Linked DNA regions of Homo sapiens: all the other regions are linked to region 1. The links are contacts of gene promoters, found by promoter capture Hi-C in blood cells and fetal thymus (Javierre and others, 2016). All regions are on one chromosome and are shown on one strand. The core of a region is centred on a gene start or on the middle of the fragment in contact, and the rest is flanking DNA. Distances in the headings are between cores, read along the strand shown.

What was found. The method cuts DNA at HindIII sites, captures the fragments that hold promoters and counts their contacts. A CHiCAGO score of 5 or more calls a contact.
Region 2: a contact is called between a fragment that was not itself captured here and the fragment with the promoter of FABP4 in region 1, in 2 of 17 cell types (M0 macrophages and M1 macrophages). The highest score is 6.0, in M0 macrophages.
Region 3: a fragment that was not itself captured here is called in contact with the fragment with the promoter of FABP4 in region 1 in 2 of 17 cell types (M0 macrophages and M2 macrophages); the score reaches 6.7 in M0 macrophages.
Region 4: a fragment that was not itself captured here is called in contact with the fragment with the promoter of FABP4 in region 1 in 3 of 17 cell types (M2 macrophages, M0 macrophages and M1 macrophages); the score reaches 10.6 in M2 macrophages.

Annotation. Positions count from the first base shown.
Region 1 is chr8:81,481,128-81,486,006 of GRCh38, reverse strand. It overlaps FABP4 (fatty acid binding protein 4), which reads left to right and starts at 2,774. Exons shown (of 4, transcript NM_001442.3): 1 at 2,774-2,912. The coding sequence starts at 2,840. The region is part of intron 1 of LOC101927118 (a long non-coding RNA gene); the gene reads right to left. The HindIII fragment of the contact is 8,539 bases long and covers 38-4,879 here.
Region 2 is chr8:81,307,790-81,313,009 of GRCh38, reverse strand. No RefSeq gene overlaps it. Among named protein-coding and RNA genes, the nearest start is that of LNMICC, 29 kb to the right of the region's middle. The HindIII fragment of the contact is 1,659 bases long and covers 954-2,612 here.
Region 3 is chr8:81,268,348-81,273,232 of GRCh38, reverse strand. No RefSeq gene overlaps it. Among named protein-coding and RNA genes, the nearest start is that of FABP5, 9.7 kb to the left of the region's middle. The HindIII fragment of the contact is 1,948 bases long and covers 584-2,531 here.
Region 4 is chr8:81,283,964-81,289,117 of GRCh38, reverse strand. FABP5 (fatty acid binding protein 5) reads right to left here. Exons shown (of 4, transcript NM_001444.3): 3 at 5,144-5,154; 4 at 4,343-4,604. The coding sequence ends at 4,551. Among named protein-coding and RNA genes, the nearest start is that of LNMICC, 5.1 kb to the right of the region's middle. RefSeq lists an enhancer at 885-934. The HindIII fragment of the contact is 5,269 bases long and covers 1-3,889 here.

The DNA of each region.
Region 1 (4,879 bases), core at 1,525-4,024:
CAATGCCTGATCACATGTTGAATAAATAAGCGAAGCTTGCTGTTACCATGGTACTCTAAAACTTCACTGCCCAAGAGAAATATAATGTAAGCCACATATATAATCTAAAATTTTCTAGCAGCCACATAAGGAAAGTAAAAAAGAAATAGGTTAAATTAATTTTCGTAATACATTCTATTTAACCTAACATATCGAAAATGTTGTCATTTCAACATGTAATCAATGTAAGAAAATGAATAATATAGGATATATTTGTATATTGTCTTCAAAATCTGGTATATATTTTATACTAACAGTTCATCTCAATTCAGATTCTAAATTTTCTTTTGAAATACTTGTCCAACATTTAGATTTCATAAAATTTACAATTGAAAAAGTAGATTGACATAGCCACATTGGTTCAAACATATTTAAAAGTTTTTCAGTAACTGAATTGAGGATCATTTCTTTCATTTTAATTAAAATTAAGTAAAATTAAAAATTCAATTTCTCAGTCATACTAGCCACATTTTAAGAGCCACATGTGACCGGAGATTACACTACCAGAGAGTCAATCTCTAAAACAATTATTCACAATAAAAAAGTCACGGAATCAACCTAAGTGTCCATCAGTGGATGACTGGATGAAGACAATGTGATATATATTTACCATGGAATACCACTCAGCCATAAAAAGGGATGAGATCATTTCTTTTGCAGCAACATAGGTGAAACTGGAGACCATTATCTTAAGTGAAATAAATCAGAAACAGAAAGTCAAATACCACATATTCTCACTTATAAGTGGGAGCTAAACAATGTGTACACACAGACGTACAGAGTGGCATAATAGACAATTGGAGACTCCAAAAGGTGGGAAGGTGGGAAGGTGGGAGGGGGCAAGGGATAAGAAATTACCTATCAGGGCCGGGCACAGTGGCTCACGCCTGTAATCCCAGCACTTTGGGAGACTGAGGCGAGTGGGTCACCTGAGGTCAGGAGTTCAAGACCAGCCTGGCCAACATGGCGAAACCCTGTCTCTACTAAAAATATGAGAAAAAAAATTATCCAGGCATGTGGTGGGCACCTGTAATCCCCGCTACTAGGGAGGCTGAGGTAGGAGAATCGCTTGAACCTGGGAGGCAGAGGTTGCAGTGAGCCAAGATCGCGCCACTGCATTCCAGCCTGGACAATAAAATCAAAACTCCATCTCAAAAAAAAAAAAAAAAAAGAAAGAAATTACCAATTGAGTACAATATACACTATTTGGGTGATGATTACACTAAAAGTCCAGACTTTATTACAACTCAATATACATATGTAACAAAAATGCACATGTAGTCCGAAATCTATAGAAACAAAAATTTTAAAAAACCAAATTGCAGTGTTAGAATACACATAGTATGTATTCAAATTCAATCATTTAAAAACCTGTAGGAAGCAAATTAATTTAAAACATTATCAAAAACATCCCTCTATTAAGATTTGTCACTTTTATTTACTTTCCATCTGAACAGTCTTATTCAATGGGAAACAGGTGGATCACTAATAGCAAGCCTACCTGGATGGTACATCACCACAGTCTGTGTATCTATGCAACAGTCCAGAGTAGATGAGCGTTATTACTGTGCCATTAACAAATGCAAAACCTAACTTTATCAGGCTTTCATAGCAACTTGCTTTCCTACAGAAAATCCTGTTGCTTACAGAATTTCCTGCCACAAACATTTTTGGGAAGCCCTCAGGACACTTACACAGGCTTGTGAATCAATCACATGCTCAGCAGGTACTGTTCAGTGGGATACACAGTGTAGCGATGCATCACTCTGAAATATTTTAGTTTCTTTTTTTCCCCTAAATCTGGGTATGTTCGTGGGAATTTGCAGCACATGTGAACAACTTCTGTCATTCTTGCATGAGGCAAAGGGAATTGAAAACCACGATTACTTTAGAAAACTAGTTTCACAGATTGGTCACTGTATAAAAGAAGGATATTGGTTTTGGTAGCTTGTGACCACACACCATTTCTGATCTGAATAAATTCAGAACTTATAATACAGTTCAGAAATTGAATGCAGTTTCTCAATATGAGGAAAGTATTTTAGAATAAGGCCTATTTTTCAAAGGATCTGTGGAAATCAATGCTATGCTCTCATTTAGGAGATGGAAAGAGTGAGGTTAAATTATCATTTCGATTAAATCTACAGTCCAGATTACTGGTGGATGAATTGAATGTACTTTTTTATTCATATAAAACATTTGAAATCAGAAATCTGGAGTACTTTTAAATCCCATTATTTATTTTGTTTTAATCGCCAGGTAATTCCTGAGACAGGAGTGTCCCGAAGAGCCTTTGCAATTATGTAAGAATCTCCGAGGCAGTTCTTATGTTCCTCAATTCAAAAGAACCACATAACTGCAATTTAAATAACACCCCACACACACACACAAAATAAGGTCGAAGTTTATCTCAAAATAATTTCCCCTCTCTACACTGGGATAAATATGTATAGGAATAATAGGGGGAAATTCAGTGCACTGAGCATTAAGCTGTCAAAACAGGAATGTTTAAAATATCCTGTTAGTGGTTTAAAAATAATTTGTACTCTAAGTCCAGTGACTATTTGCCAGGGAGAACCAAAGTTGAGAAATTTCTATTAAAAACATGACTCAGAGAAAAAAATGCAGAGGCCGGTAATGAAGGAAATGATTGGATCTCATTCCCAATTGGTCATTCCTAAGATCACATGTTCTGAGCATCTTTAAAAGGAAGTTATCTGGACTCAAGAGGGTCACAGCACCCTCCTGAAAACTGCAGCTTCCTTCTCACCTTGAAGAATAATCCTAGAAAACTCACAAAATGTGTGATGCTTTTGTAGGTACCTGGAAACTTGTCTCCAGTGAAAACTTTGATGATTATATGAAAGAAGTAGGTAAGGAAATGCGTTGTGGAATGACTGGATTTATAATATTTTCTTTTGGGAAAAAGAGTTTACAGCTGTGTTTATAGCAATGTCTGGAAGCCCTGGCCAGAAATGAAAAATGCTGCTTTCTATAGAGAGGCTGCACACATAGCAAGTGATAATCATTTGTTTCTAGAGAAATTCTGAACCAAAGCTACAACTAATGTTTCCTAAAGGTGTACCAATATAAAAAGGTGTCTAAATGGAATGTTTATTGTCTTTAGAAATGATAAGATTTGACTTTATTTGAAAAACTTGGGTATCCTTGGTTTACTTAGCTCTTTGCCTGTTTCTCTTTCATCCCCTTTTGCATGTAAATTAAGCAATAACTTGGAAAAAAGTTAGTATGCAATAATTTTCATTTCAAACTGAAAGCACTCTAGTTCCCTTAATGCAAGGTTCTTTTTCAGTAACCGTATGTTAGCCAATTATTTTCTTGTCTCAATGTTAATCTATTAAAATATGTGGTTGTTTTATGATAGACAAAAATTTTAATTTCAGAAAATATGTTTCTTAAATGGCTTAAATACTTCCTTTGACTAGAAATGACATAGTATGCCATAGAATTATCAACCAATTTAAAAGGAGAATGTTACGCATATAACATACCTCTTCTTTGATAGTAGAGGTTTTTAATTTTTTAGACGCTGTTAACTGTCAGCATGTCATTGGATGAATGTCTCTCAGATAACTATGGAGGTAAATCAGAAAAGACAACTTCTCACTCAGGCAGCTTCTACTTTGAAAACCTTTCTCCCTCAACCCCATGCATGACAGTCCAATAAAGTCAGAACTGGGGTTAGCAAACTGGGGAGGAATTTTATGCAATCTTAGGGTTTAGAATGTAATCATTAAATCGCAAAACACTTAACCCTCCTGTAAATTATACAGTATATATTTTTTTGCTTGTCTGTAACTATGTTTCTTGTTTTTAGATGATAGGGAAATTGGTGACTTCAGCATGAGAGAGACTTTCTAGAATAAACTAGAGTGATTCAATAAACTAATTAATATGCACTGATGCAGAAAAGCCAGGATTTGGGGCCATTTAACTATTTATTTTTAGAAAAATGTTATACTTTTAATATTTATATTTTCTAATAATACTGTGTTTTTAAATTATAAAGGGCTGATTATAATTAAAGTCAATAAAACACCTTCTGCATGAAATTAGCTGCTGTAATTGAGGATGAGTGGGCAGGTATTGTCTTCATCATCAAATAAAAGCAAAATCAAGCAAATGGAGACTGGTTTTTCCCAAGGTCAGTCATTCTAGAATCACACTCAGTTTTGCCTGCATTCACGAAGTGGACTCACTTCATACATTTAATGTTATATTTTGTAACTGAGCCAGGACATGAAGACACACCTGTGGCCATTTTTCAGACAGACAGCCAAATCGGAGCCTCAGCATTACTTATTTTGCGCCATATATCTCTCCCAGTTCTTCCCAATTTCTAACCTTTGGTTGCCTTTAGTCAAAGAAAGAGCTTAGATTTACATGCACATGTTTAAAAAATTCAGCAAATCTATGACTGCCATAAACTCTGCATGACATACACAGTGTCAGCAAGTTACTGCTATGTTAGGCTGTAAATTATTCATTCCATACCTTGCACAAGAAAATATATTCCCCTTTTTAAGAAAGAAAAGTTCACAACTTAGGTGACTGGAAATCAAAGTATTGGCTTCTAACCTATTTTAAACTAAGAAATAGTGATTTATTAAATGTTAAAGTTTTCACAATTTGATGACTAGTCCCTTTTAAATATCCCCTATAAATTATTAGCAATGATATCACCATTCTAAAATGTTATAAATGTAGGAAACATTTTGCCTTTTGTAGAAATTCATGAAAATCTTCATTTCATGGTGGAGTAATTTGAGAAAGAAGCACAGAAAAGTAGACTTGGCAACAAATGCTATGAAATGTGACT
Region 2 (5,220 bases), core at 534-3,033, 170 kb after region 1:
ACATTTCCCCACTGCCCAGGGCTCCAAATGTATGGGTGGACAGTATGCTACCTCCAGGCTTGTCAGGAACTTAGTCTGCTAGCAGTCTAATGCAATACCTCATTTTCTATTTCTGATTTAAATACAAACATTCAAATATTTTATACTTAAATATTAAACAGCAGTTTTCATTGAGAGATTCAAAATTTGCAATTACCTATGAAATTTTGGACAGCCTGGGTCCCTGAAGGATTTCCCAGGCATTATCTTACTTATATTATGCCGGGGAGGAAGTGATGTAGATAAAGGTATCTGGGGTGTGAACTCCTACTCCTACCCCCAGGAAATCTGTGATCCATCAGCTAAAACTCCAGCCACTGTGTTAAACTATTTTCTCAGTGACATAAAAATTAGGCTCTTTTTCAAGAAATCAACAGGAAGAATAACATGTTTTTGTGCAGCAAGACTTGCTTTCAGTTCCACGATATTTTTTTTCTTTATCCAAAACCAAGAAAAAAAAAGTCTATTTTCAGGACATATTTTATTCCCATCCACAATTCTAGTGAGGAACAGCTATTTGTGGTGTCTGAATTTGATTCAGGGATCTGCAATCCACCTGTTCAAACTGCCTGGGCCCCTGACTTTGTTCCCTAAGGTTATTGTGACAGGTACACATACGATAACACAAAATAGCACCTGGTATGTAATAGATGCTCATTCAAAAACTATAGAATATCTGAACGTCCTCTCACATTACTCAAAGGAGGGGATACGGTTAGTTTATAAGAAAGACTAGAATCTAGTCATGCAGCGTGTATCAGCAAAGGCTCAACTCTGGATTGGTGCCCCTGCTTCATTTTTGCACTTTGAAGATGACGCATACTTTCTTCTTGGCTTAACTGTGGGTTTAAAATGACTTATTTTCTTTTTTATCCAGCATATTTAGGTGATTGAAGGTGAAAACCTGGAAAGCTTTCAGGAAATCTAGCCAACCAAATTACCAGCAACTAAGTTCAAAACCATGGTTTTGGATTGCTTATATTACCAGGGACAAAATGGCAGGTTGGTGGCAGGGATTCAGAACTTGGAGCTAAACAGCAAGTGAGTGGCGTGGGTACTGGACTTCAGCTGAAGCAGCAGGAGCTGACCTGCTTCTGTATTCGCTATACACTGCATATACTTCTCCAATCCACTGACACCTCCTGTTAATCTAGTTTACATCACAAAGTTGTATCCACATGTGTCATGATGTTCTTCCACTTACCCTAGGGCTTTCTGAAATAAGATTATAAGGTTCCAAGTTAAGCGTGGACTGAGCCTACAACTTCTATCATACATATCACATATGATATATCTATATTATATATAGATATATATCCCAATGATATATTATGATACATATTTTGATTTTATAAATAAATATGTGTGTGTATGTGCGTGTATATATTCCAAGGGTATATTTTCCAGACCCTGAACTGATTAACAGAGAGAAGTTCTGGAGGTCTTATTTCCCCACAACAGTAAAAAAAAAATGACAGTCTCTTGGGGTACTGCCATAATCTCAGGTTTCAGATTTTCAATAAACAACAAGTATTGGTTTGCAGGGCTGGAAAGTATTCAACAGCAAGCCTCTAATTATCAGAATCTACCTATCTCTTTCCTGAAAAAATTCTGGCCTTAAACCAGGGTCATACTTTCCTAAGAGCCAAGTGGGTGACCACATATTAATTGTGTCATATGAATAAAACCAATGATGAAGAAGCTGCAGAAATCTAATGGATATAGTTTGCTTCTATCTGCCAGCTGAAAATAAGTCCAAAAAGGTAGATGGCATGCATTATAAAGAGATGCTTAGATCAGCAATGGGAGAAAAAACGTTTTTCCAGGATGAGGGAAAAATGTGATAGGAAAGTACTTTATGAGTATAGTGTTTCTTGCTATTTTGTTCACTTCTAGTTGCTGTTCAGAAATTGTCCTTCAGGGATTTATAAGTTTTTGAGAGCACCTGGAATAGATCAGCTGATAAAGTGGAAAGCCACCATTTGGAACATAATTGGCAATTGGTAAATGAGAAGTATTTTAGATGGTTGTGTAACTGTTAAGTCTCCTTTTCATTGCAGTAATAAAAATATGTTATAGTTAACTTTAAAAAAGAGGTAATTCATAATAAAGACATAGGTTTTTGCATAGTCTTGCTTTGGCTATGCAGGCTCTTTTTGATTCCATATGGATTTTAGGATTTTATTTTTCTGGTTCTGTGAAGAATGGTGGTGGTATTTTGATGGGAATTGCATTGAATTTGTAGATTGCTTTTGGCAATATGGTCATTTTCACAATATTGGTTCCACCCATCCATGACCATGGGGTGTGTTTTCATTTGTTTGTGTCATCTATGCTTTCAGCAGTGTTTGTAGTTTTCCTTGTAGAGGTCTTTCACCTACTTGGTTAGGTATATTCCTAAGTATTTTATTTTATCATTTTGCAACTATTGTGAAGGGGGTTGAGTTCTTATTTGATTTGCAGCTTGGTCACTGTTGGTGTATAGCAGAGGTACTGATTTGTGTACATTGATTTTGTATCCTGAAACTTTGCTGAATTCATTTACCTGTTTTAGGAGCTTTTTGAATGAAGCTTTAGGGTTTTCTAAGTTTACGATCATATCATCAGCAAACAGTGAAAGTTTGACTTCCTCTTTACCAATTTGAATGCCCTTCATTGCTTTTTCTTGTCTGATTGCTCTGGCTAGGACTTCCAGTACTATGTTGAATAGAGTGGTGAAAGTGGGCATCCTTGTCTTGTTCCAGTTCTCAGGAGAAATGCTTTCAACTTTTCCTCATTCAGTATAATGTTGACTGTAAGTTTGTCATAGTTGGCTTTTTATTACATTGAGGTATGTCCCTTCTATGCCGATTTTGCTGAGGGTTTTAATTATAAAGGGATGCTGGATTTTGTTGAATGTTTTTCTGCATCTATGGAGATGATCATGTGATTTTTGCTTTTAATTCTGTTTATTTAAGGCATCACATTTATTGCCTTGCGTATGTTAAACCATCCCTGCATCCCTGGTATGAAACTCACTTGATCACGGTGAATTATCTTTTTGATATGCTATTGGATTCAGTTCACTAGTATTTTGTTGAGGATTTTTGCCTCTATGTTCACTAGGGATATTGGTCTGTAGTTTTCTTTTTTTGTTATATCCTTTCCTGGTTTTGCTATTGGAGTGATACTGGCTTCATAGAATGATTTAGGGGAGGATTCCCACTTTTTCTATCTTTTGGAGTAGTTTCATTCAGTAAGATTGGTACCAATTCTTCTTTGAATGTCTAATAGAATTCAGCTGTGAATCCATCTGGTCCTGGGCTTTTGTTGTTGTTGTTGTTGGCAATTTTTTAAATTACTGTTTCAATCTTGCTACTTGTTATTGGTCTGTTCAGAGTTTCTGTTTCTTCCTAGTTTAATCTAGGAGGGTTGTATAATTCCAAGAATTTATTCATCTCCTCTAGGTTTTCTGGTTTATGTGTGTAAAGGTGTTCATAGTAGCCTTGAATAATATTTTGTATTTCTGTAGTATTGGTGGTAATATCTCTCGTTTCATTTCTAACTGAGCTTATTTGGATCTTCTCTCTTCATTTCTTGGTTAGTTTCACTAACAGTCTATCAATTTTATTTATCTTTTCAAAAAATCAGCTTTTTGTTTCATTTATCTTTTGTATTTTTTTATTTCGATTTCATTTAGTTCTGCTATGATGTTAGTTATTTCTTTTCTTCTGCTGGCTTTGGGTTTAGTTTGTTCTTATTTCTCCAGTTCCATGAGATGTGATCTTATGTTGTCTTTTTGTGCTATTTCAGACTTTTTGATGTAGGCATTTATTGTTATGAACTTTCCTCTTCACACCATTTTTGCTGTATCACAGAGGTTTTGATAGGTTGTGTCACTGTTATCGTTCAAAAATTTTTTAATTTCCATCTTGATTTCATTGTTGACCTGCTCCTGATCATTCAGGAGCAAGTTATTTAATTTCCACATATTTCATGATTTTGAGGTTGCCTTTTGGGGTTGATTTCCAATTTTATTCTACTGTGATCTGAGAGAGTACTTGATATAATTTTTATTTTCTTAAATTTACTGGGACTTCTTTTGTAGCCTATCATATGGTCTATATTGGACAATGTTCCATGTGCTGATGAATAGAATGTGCATTCTGCATTTGTTGGGTAGAATGTTCTGTAAATATCTGTTAAGTCCATTTGTTGTAGGGTATAGTTTAAGTGCATTGTTTCTTTGTTGACTTCCTGTCTTGATGACCAGTCTAGTGCTGTCAGTGGAGTACTAAACACCCCCACTATTATTGTGTTGCTTTCTATCTCATTTCTTAGATCTAGTAGTAATTGTTTTATAAATTTGGGAGCTCCAGTGTTAGGTGCATATATATTTAGAACTGTGATATTTTCCTGTTGGACTAGTCCTTTTATCATTATATAATGTCCCTTTTTGTCTTTTTTAACTGCTGTTGCTTTAAAGTTTGTTTTGTCTGATATAAGAATAGCTACTCCTGCTCACTTTTGGTGTTCATTTGCATGGAGTATTTTTTTCCACCCCTTTACTTTATGTGAGTCCTTATGTGTTAGGTGAGTCTCCTGAAGACAGCAGAAACTAGGTGGGTGAATTCTTAACCATTCTGCCATTCCATATCTTTTAAGTGGAGCATTAGGCCATTTACACTCGATGGGAGTAATGAGATGTAAGGTACTATTCTATTCATCGTGCTATTTGTTGCCTGAATACCTTGGGTTTTTTTCATTGTGCTATTGTTATATAGTTCATGTGAGATTTATGCTTTAAGGAGGTTCTATTTTGGTGCATTCTGAGGATTTGTTTCAAGAGTTAGAGCTTTCTTAAGCAGTTCTTGTAGTGCTGGCTTGGTAGTGGCGAACTCTCTCAGCATTCATTTATCTGGAACAGACTGTATTTGTCCTTCAGTCATGAAGCTTAGTTTCGCTGAATACAAAATTCTTGTCTGATAATTGTTTTGTTTAAGGAGGCTAGAACTAGGACCCCAATCCCTTCTAGCTTGTAGTGTTTCTGCTGAGAAATCTGCTGTTAATCTGATAGGTTTTCCTTTATAGGTTATCTGATGCTTTTGCCTCACAGAACTTAAGATTGTTTTCTTCATCTTGACTTTAGATAACTTGATGACTATGTGCCTAGGCAATGATCTTTTTTGCAATGAATTTCCC
Region 3 (4,885 bases), core at 308-2,807, 210 kb after region 1:
GCTCAGCTAGAAAGATCTTGTCTGAGAAATACTGGGTTAGAAATCATGAAGCAACTCATGTCACTACTCAGCTCTGCCTGTGCTTTAGAGTTAGTTCATCGCTATAAACCGGGTAGTAAACGGACACCAGGCTATGCCTGAGGTGGTGATGCATACTGAGATATACAACTTGCATAATAAAAATTTCCAGAATACAAGTCAAAACTGGAATTGTCACCACCCGGCTAGTTCAGTAAGGGTCAGAAAATCCTGCTGAGTTCCTTTTCTGAGAATTGAGAGAAGAGTCTCAGAAGCAAAGCTGAATGATTTCTTGCCACACATACTCTGATGCCCTTGTCTTTCAGTAGAAACTGTACGTGGTTCCTGGGGAGAAGACTATGGTTCTATATGACAAGTTTTATTTGTTGCATGTTGTAAAATATTATCACTTCTGCAGCTATGTTATCAGGACATCATATAAGTGTCAAGACAGAATAGGACCAGCTTCTATAAACAGGAAAGAATGCCATTTACTGGTGTCCCTTTGAATGTATTTAGCATATGAAAGTTACTCTATGTTATGTACTATATGGGAAAAAAAGCTTTTTTCTCAAATTAAATACCTTTCCATTTTATTGCATTTTTGCATTTTGTTGACATAATCATCTCTGAGATATAGTCACAGAAACAAAAGTTTGACCCCAATATGAAACAGAAAATCAAAACTGCCTAATATTCCATTTGAAAGCATGTGGTGATACAAATCATAACTAGAAACAAAATAAAAATCACATAAGAGTTCAACAAAACATTTATTTGTCATTTTCCAATCAACGTGAATAGTGATGGTAAATCCTGCACACACAAAAAAGTATTGGGTTTCCTTTTGCTTCGTGCTTTACTAAGCAGGTGTCAGCTGCTTCTGGTTTTCCAAGGCAAGGCTCTAGTTCTTTCACACCCAAAGCCTTAGGGCCTCAGTACTCTGAGGGAACCTAACTAGTCCAAGTCACTAATCCACATGAACAAGTAGAACTTGATCTTTGCTGCCCACACCCAAGACATACAGTTTTTAATTGCGTATTTGGCAGTAATTCTTGGTCAGACGTGATCTCAGAACAATGAGTTGTCACTTGAGCAGACATATTGGTAAATTCTTCAAAGTTGTATAGTTTCATTTCTGAAAATAGATTAGTGGCTTGGATTTAGGACTAAAGGAGAATCAAAATCCTAGAGTTTAAAGGAATTTTAGATGTCTTCTAATTCAGCTAAAACTCAATCAAGATTCCTTTGACAAAAGATTTTCTGAGTAAGCAAAAATAGAATTGCAAATTATAGGTTTATCAAGAACACCAAATATATTCCATAATCATTTAAGTATTCTTTAAAATACTTTATGGGAAGAAAAATGAAAATGAAAAAATAAGGGGATTAACCTAAAAATTAAATTATTTCTTTCAATTCGTATTTGGCCTATGAAAATAATAGTTATTAATTCATAGTTCAAACAATACTAGAGTATGGATTATAAATAGACATGAGAAATGTAACACTGCAAGTAATTGTGCCATTGCTTGGCCTCCCCCCTTGTTCCTCAAGAAAACCATATGTCATAATAATATGTCATATACTTACACAAACATGCATAATTTGCTCACTATTTAAACTGTAGCAGAGCCTTTTTGGTCTCTTAGAAAATCTTAAAAAGTATATATCTTTTTTTAAAGTATTTTTTAAAAAACTATTATCTTTGTGTCCTCAATTCCCCTTTGTCTTCACTTGAATTGAAAACAATCTTAAAAGATTTTTTAAGAATCAAATTGGACATAGCAACTTTTGTCTCTATTATAATTCTAGGCCATAACGTTAAAATAGTCAGGCAAATAAATATTAGTATCATTTGTAAAACAATAATTTTATTAAATATCTGCTCTAAATACATAAAAAGTAAAAGCAGTGACCTAGGATATAGGAAACCCTTGTTCTAGACTTTGCTACAAAATACCTGTTTAAATTTAAATTTTTGTTTTCTCATCTGTAACCTTAGAAGAACAGAAGAAATTAAAATTTCCTGTGAGGAGTTTTTTGAATACAGACTCCATTATCAAACAAATTAGGGAAATTGGGCATACCATGATTCCCATTGGATATTTCCAGCTTGTATGAGCATACTAACAATGCCAGGAAATCTTGAACTTAAAAAATACATTTAACATTTTAAGAGCAACATCTCTACAAATGGATTGATTGCAAAACCTGCCTTGTTTGCTGCCATCCTTTTAGCAGCACTTAGAATGCTCTGAAGAATACTCTAGGAAAATGCTGATGATAATCTTCAGCCTCCAAAGTATTTGATTCTATCACCAAGACAATGTTCTGCGGGAATGAAGAAATATAGTACATAACTAGTAATGGCCTCGAAGAACATACATATCAGTTGTTCATGGAGGACATCTATGCATGAAAACTTACCTCTTAATAAAGGTCTTCTGGACATGTTCTATTGAGGTTCGGAAAGTGAATGCAGACCAAAGGTACAGTATTTAGAGAAAGCTTTGTATATATGACCTGGGAGGCCAAAGTAGATGCCCCTTTATCAATTAAACCAGACCTTAAAGTTGAAACAAGTTCCCTACAGGTTGAGGGTTCAGGGCTCAGCTAGCATGGTATTGTCCTAAATTCCTACAGCTTTAAGGAAAACCACACCTTTGCTAAACTCCTTAACAACAAGAGGAATCAGGCAAATTATCAGAACCTTCTTAACTCTGATTTACATCCCAGACCACCACAACTTTAATTGAACAGAGGACACACCTTACATTCTTTCCTGATAAGCGACTGCAGGCCTCAAGCCAGTTTCAGCCAGTTTAATAGAGATGCACAAACTGTCTTTGTGTCCTATAGTTCACCTTTTGATGTAAAGAGCAAAGTCCACCCCATTTTAATGCTAAAATCCCGCCCCAAAGTGAACATGGGATATATGTTCCATACATTTTTACCCATTGCTCATGCACCTAACTCCTCTGAGATATGGATAGCTTTTCCCCAAACCTGCAGAAGCATAAGAGACTTGGAGTTTAAAGGGAGGGACTATTAAAAAGAGAAAAGAGAGGAGGTGCATTAAGATGTTTTTCTTCATGTTTCATCCAGGTACATGTTACCCATTGGAATCAAGATATAACCTGACCACAGGGCCAGAGGACACTTACCCAGGGCCAGATTTTTGTGGGGCAGAGCCTGTATTCTGAGGCACCTATATATGTCTGACTCTATTGCATGATACAGGCCCTGTGAGGCATAAAATTCAACCTGCTTTTTCCCTTTTCAAAGAGAGAGCACCTTTGGTCCACAGCGGACACTGACTCTGGTTTGCAAACTGATATTGTCAATAATGCTCTCCTTTCTACTATGTAGCTATCCTGGTGGTCTTTCGAATGACAGGTAGAATATTGGACTGAGTTGGTTTACTTCTGAGATCTGCACCCTGAGCTTTGAGTAATAGGGAACAAAACTGATGCAGGGAGGAAGAAACCAGGTTACTTAGACACCTGAACTTTTCTGTTGATGACAAGAAGAGAAAGGTGACCAGTGGAGGGGAATAGGAATCAAATGCATCTTCTTCCAAGCAGTTACGAGTACAGAGAGATTTTCTTTTCCTTCTAAAGGTGCATCAGGATATAGGCTCTGCCCCAGTAGAGATCAGGCCTTTGGTAAGCATCCCCTGGCTTTGTGGCCAGGTTATACCTTTTTTTTTTTTTTTTAGACAGAGTCTCGCTCTGTCACCCAGGCTGGAGTGCAGTGGCATCATCTCGGCTCACTGCAACCTCCACCTTCCAGATTCAAGTGATTCTTCTGTCTCAGCCTCCTGAGTAGCTGGGACTACAGGCATGCACCACCATGCCTGGCTAATTTTTGTATTTTTAGTGGAGACGGGGTTTCACCATATTGGCCAGGCCAGTCTTGAACTCCTAACCTAGTGATCCACCCGCCTCAGCCTCCCAAAGTGCTGGGATTACAGGTGTGAGCCACCACGCCTGGTCACCAGGTTATGTCTTAATTCCAGTGGACAACATGTTATACTAGAATGAAACATGAAAAACAACAACCTAATGTACCTCCTGTCTTTTCCCTTTTCAATAATCCTTTCCTTTAAATTCCAAGTCTCTTATGCTGTCCTTGGGGACATAGGAACCTGAAGACTAATTCATTCTAATGTATGAAGTGATTTAATTCATATTTGACTATCTGGGAGGTATTTGCATTTTAAAAGGAGAAGAAGGAGCAATGTTTAAACTGAAGGCTGAATCCCTAACGATGGCATTTCAGACAGTAGCACTCACCTATGTATAATGACATTGGTGAGCAGGTGACGGAAGCCATTTGTGGAGGTAGAGAGAAAGTAGTCAGAAGACACAGAGCAAAAACTGATTTTCAAAGAAAGTGAGAAGGGGGAAAAGTACAGCAAAGTCACTAGCTACTTCAGTAGGTGGTCTTGGTATTGTATTAAACTGCTATTCCAAAGCCAAGTGTTCTATTTCTCAAGAAGTAAGCAATTAGGCACCGATTTTTCACCTAGATGCATTAAACCTACCTAATTTATATACTTACATGTGGGAAGTGTAGTAAATGGTTTCTTTCAGATATGTCTATAATAACTTCACAGAGCATTTCTTTAACAACCAAAAAGAAAACAACATTGATGAAAACAACTAAAAAACCTTATTATGCATTTTACTTATTTGTCATCTAACAAAAGGATAAACTATAATGGTTAAAATTTCAAATATGTGCCATTGACTGTTTTCAGACTCAGATTCCTGAGCAAATTTTGTAATACAACTTTTATTATTGTTGCTCAGCCCCCTTCTGCCAGCAGTATCTTGCTGAAGGAAGAGTTATAAGCAGAGAA
Region 4 (5,154 bases), core at 6-2,505, 200 kb after region 1:
ATTAAGTTGGTGCAAACATAATTGCAGTTTTTGCACTTCAAAGTAATGACAAAAAGCTGCAATTACTTTTGCACCAACCTAACAGATTCCACCCCATTCGCTCCTTATCACTCTACTTGGTTTTATATTTTTCTAGCTGCACTTATCACCCTGCCATTTGTTTGAATCATGTATGTTCCATCATGCTATGGTTTGACTGTGTCCGCCAAAGTTCATGTGCTGGAAATGTAATCCCTAATGCAACACCGATGGGAGGTGGGACCTAATAAGTGTTGATTAGGTCACAATGGCTCTGCCTTCATGAATGGATTAATGTCGTTATCTCTGGAGTGGGGTGGTTATCGCAGGAGTGGGCTTGTTGTGAAAGTGACTTCAGCCCCCTCTTGCTCTCTTACTCTCTCTCATCCTGCCACCTTCCGTCTTGGGATGACGTATCAAGAAGGCCCTCACCAGATTCAGGACCCTCAATTTTCGACTTCCCAGCCTCGAGAAATATAACAGATAAATTTCTGTTCTTTATAAATTACCCAGTCTCAAGTATTCTGTCACAGCAGCACAGGACAGACTAAGACACATCATCTCACACTAGAATGTCAGTTCCATCAGAAAGAACCTTCACCCTACTCTATCTTGTTCACCATGCCATGTGTTGCCAGCACCTTTAAAAAACGCTCCTTAAGAATTATTCTCTTTTCAGACATTTTCCAAGCGTACAGTATGGGAGAAGGAGGTATAAGGGGAGGAGGCAATGGGAGGAGGAGAGAGACTGGATCAAAAGCAAATGTTTACATATGATCTGGTGACAGAGCCTGGCACACCAGATATCATAAGACTACAATTATTTTCCAGTTGCTGTGTGACTAGCTGCAAGTCATACCACTTTGCCTTTCACAGCATTTCAGAATATGTGTCAGCTTTCCAAACCAGTTCACCGGCTTCATCAGCCCTTTCTACCAACTCACTTCACCCATGACCCATCAAATGGCAGTGAATTCTAAGAGGGCAGTGTTAGAAAAGGAGAACAGAGAATTCATGAAACCCAGGGAAACACTATAATTATTCTCATGAACTTAAAAGTGAATTCAAAATGGAACAGACATTAAGAATCATTGGTTTATAAGCAGCAAGAATTGAGTAATAGTCCAAGTTGACTTGGCAGCCTCAAAATCTAGGTGCCAAAAAGATGGTTCTCAACCTTTTCATGGTCATAGCACAATTTCAAATACCAGAATTTTGAGAAAACAGTTAAAGAGATTGAGACTCAAGAAATCATTGACTATGTTAGCAATAGATGCATCATAATCACTACTAGCATAAAACAATGCCTCATTTTGCCTGCAAAGATCTTACAGTGGCAATTCACTACAACCATTCATCCGCAGGCACTTGGACTTCACTTGTCGAGAACAGTTGATGCCCTCATGGTGCTCAAGGACATAATACAAAAGTTGTCATCTTTCTCCTGTATATTTTTCTTTAGTGAGAGGTTGACTTGTGTTAAACTGTCTTTCTTCTAGCAAATCATATTAATCTTCACCATGTTCCACAAACACCTCAGGTCCAGTTCTGCTTGACAGGCATTGCCTGTTAGCAGAGTGCTTGGCTGCAGTAAAATAAATTGTATACATCGATCAAAACTGGGTAGCCTATTTTTTGGTAGGCCAGGGTGCCATGACATGCCAGTTTGGAAGCACGGCTGAATTCCTTACTTCCTATTTCAAACATACTTTTCCCACAGTCATCAAGCGCACTATTCTGGGGTAAAAGACCTGATTAAAGTTGAATGGTTTGCATAAAGGTAAGAAATATGGTTTTAATAAATAAAGTCAATTGAAGCAATATCATGATGGGTCTTAAATAATATAAAAATGTGTTAAATAGATGTCAGGAATCCATTAATTTATTAACAAATTCGTTCATTTAACAAATATGTATGGAGCATCTTTTGTATGTCGGGTTCTCCCCTAATTGCATACTAGAGAGTGTGTGCACTGTTAGAAACAAAGTCCCTTCTTCATAAGACTTACTTTCTATTGGGGAGACAGATAATAACCAAAAAAATTAAGAAATAAAACAAGTGAATGTATAGTTAGAATTGATGATAAAGGTGAGGACTATGAGAAAAAATAAAGCAGCTTAGGGGAATTGAGAATGTGGGGGAGGAGTGGCAGCTCTGATGCATCATGTGGTCTGGGAATGACTCACTGTTAGGGTGACCTTTAGGGAAGAGACTCTAAGGAGTGGAGAAAGTGTGGGCTGCAGCCTCCTTGGGGAAGAGTGTTTCAGGCAGAGGAAACAGGTGCAAAGGCCCTGAGGCAAAAGCACATTTGCATCAACATTGGCCAAGGTCTGAGGGAATGTTTGAGAGGACAGTGGCAGGAAATGAAATCAGGAGGGGGCACTGGGAAGGTGGAAGACACAGGCAAATCACATAGAAACTCTATGAAGATCTTAGCTTCTACTCCTAGGGAAGTAAGAGGCCAGTGGAGGGTTCTCAACAGAGGAGTGACATGTTGTAACCTGTGTTTTAAAATGATAGCTTTGGGAGAATAAAGTTGCAAAATGGCAGAGAAGGGGAGAGATGATGGTGATGACTGAATGAGGGTGGTATCTGTGAAAGAAGTGACAAGCAATTGAATTCTAGGTATATTCTGATGGTAAAACAAATAATTTGCTAATTGATTAGATATAAGATGGTAAAGAAATAATCAAAGATTAGACATTTAGCCTGAACACTGGAAACATGACATTCCCATGAATTGAGAGGGAGAATACTGCAAGAGGAATCGGTTTGAAAGTTTAAAACATAAGAATTTCAATTTTGGAAACATCCCATGCTGTCCAAATTAACAGTCACTAACTACATGTGGGTACTTAAATTTACATTTTAGTTAATAAAAACTAAATTAAAAATTCAGTTCCTCAGTTGCACTCACCACATTTCAAATGCTCAATACTCACTTACGGCTAGTGGCTACCTTAGTGGCCAGTGCAGATATTAAAGAGCATTTCCATGTCACATAAAGTTATATTGGGAAGTGCTGGTGGGACATTAAGCCTTTACTATATTATGGGTCCCGTGCTAACTTTCATTTTTGTGTCGTATTTTTTATTGGACAGTGTTGATTTAGACTTCCTTTCTATGTGAATTTCAATCATGCTTATTTCAGTCTCTATGCTAGGGTTCTTCATTCATCCACATTTTCCACTTCTCATAATCATGTTTGGTTCAGAGAGAATGTCAATAAATATACATAATTATGAGAAGCGGAAAATGTGGATGAAAGAACCCCAGCATAGAGACTGAAATAAGCATGACTGAAATGAAAGTACATGCAATTTTTACATTTTCCCTAGAAACATTAAAAAAGTAAATGGGTAAAATTAACTTTACAAATATATATTTACTTTAATATGCAATCAATACCAAAAAAATCATTAATAAGGCATTTTACTTTTTGTACTAAGCCTTTGAAATCCCCTATGTACGTCTCAATTCAGACTAGTCACACTTCAAAGGTTCAATAGCCATGTGTGACTCATAGCTATGTATTGGACAGGACAGGACTAGAGTATCAGCGAGTTGAAAACCTCCACTGACTGCTAGCTGTGGCTAATTCTTAAAAGAATAGGCTTACCAGTTAACATTTCTGCACGTGGAGGGTGGTTTCAGAAGTCTCACTTAGTATACGTAGGGACTTTAGACAAGATCTGCACAAGCTGCAAAGAGACAGCATTGCAGAATGACTGAACACATTGAGTAGACTTGATGAGATATAGGTTGTCGGTCCAGCTCTACTACCTCCTGTCCTTGAACTAGTTACTTGCAGAATGGTTGTAGTTGTACCAGCCCTTTAACGTCTGCCCTAAAGATCATTTATGCGAAGCTTTAGCTCAGGGCCAACAGCCTGCTTCTCCAAATGTGAACTGTGGATATTTGTGTTGGGGACCGAGAAACAGAGATTCACTAGAATTCTGGTTATTCCATACATAGTATTACTTATATTTGTATATAAATACACACAAAAAGTATTTTAGTCAATGCTGGTTAATTAAACCTTTGCTCTAATTTGAATAATAAAGTTTATGTTGTAGTCACCTTTTATTGAGAATGGTCTCTGCCAGAAATTCAAGATTCCTGAATTCATACAAAGTTCAAATAGTATAGGGCAAGCTTAAATAATTGGTACAGTATTTCCTGTAAGAGTAGCTATCTATATAAATTGCTAGAGTGTCATCTCAATATAGTACCCTCAAGACTGCCCCAACCTTTACTCAATTAATAATTATTAAAACTCATCACTAATTTCCTGTAAGGTTTAAAGAATGCATACAAGATATATTAGCACAAACACATTTATTTATTAACCAAAGGGATGATCCTAATTAATCCAACACACTTTGAAATAGCTGCATGTAAAATGTTTATGATAAAGATAATTGAACACAGTAATGAAAAAAAAAAGAAAGAAACAGTATGGAGATTTGCTCATTGAACTGAGCTTGGTCATTCTCTTAATTAACTCCTGTCCAAAGTGATGATGGAATTTTTATTCTACTTTTTCATAGATCCGAGTACAGGTGACATTGTTCATGACACACTCCTAGAAGAAGGAAAGATATTAAAAGAGTTAGGTTAGCCTTAGATTCCAGAGCAGTGGTGGTATTAAAACATTAGAATCAAAGTCCCACGAAATCACGTAATCTACTTCATAGATGGAGAAAATTTCTTTCAGAATTCACGGGTTTGAGAGAAGCCAGAAGCTGTTGTTTTGCTTATAATATGCATGTTTTACAGAAAACTAATGTGTTGAATATATCTTTATTCTTTTGGTTATGGCAAATATTCCTTATTTTAAAGATATAGAAAAATGTGTGCAGTTTGGTGGCTTGCCAAGATTTCACTGTGACGTGGCAGCAAAGCAAGAACTCCCCCCAACTCCAGCCAAATCCTCTCCTATGTCATGTCACTTCTCTATCTCCACTAGGACTTTCTTAATAATTAGTGTTCTAGTATTTAACTTGTTATTTTGCTTTTTTTTCTTCCAAACTGAGTTCTGTTAATGATCAATGATATAGAACAGTTATGTGAACTATGAATGCACACAAGAAGCTGACTGAGACACAGCAGTTTGACACTTACCACCACTAATT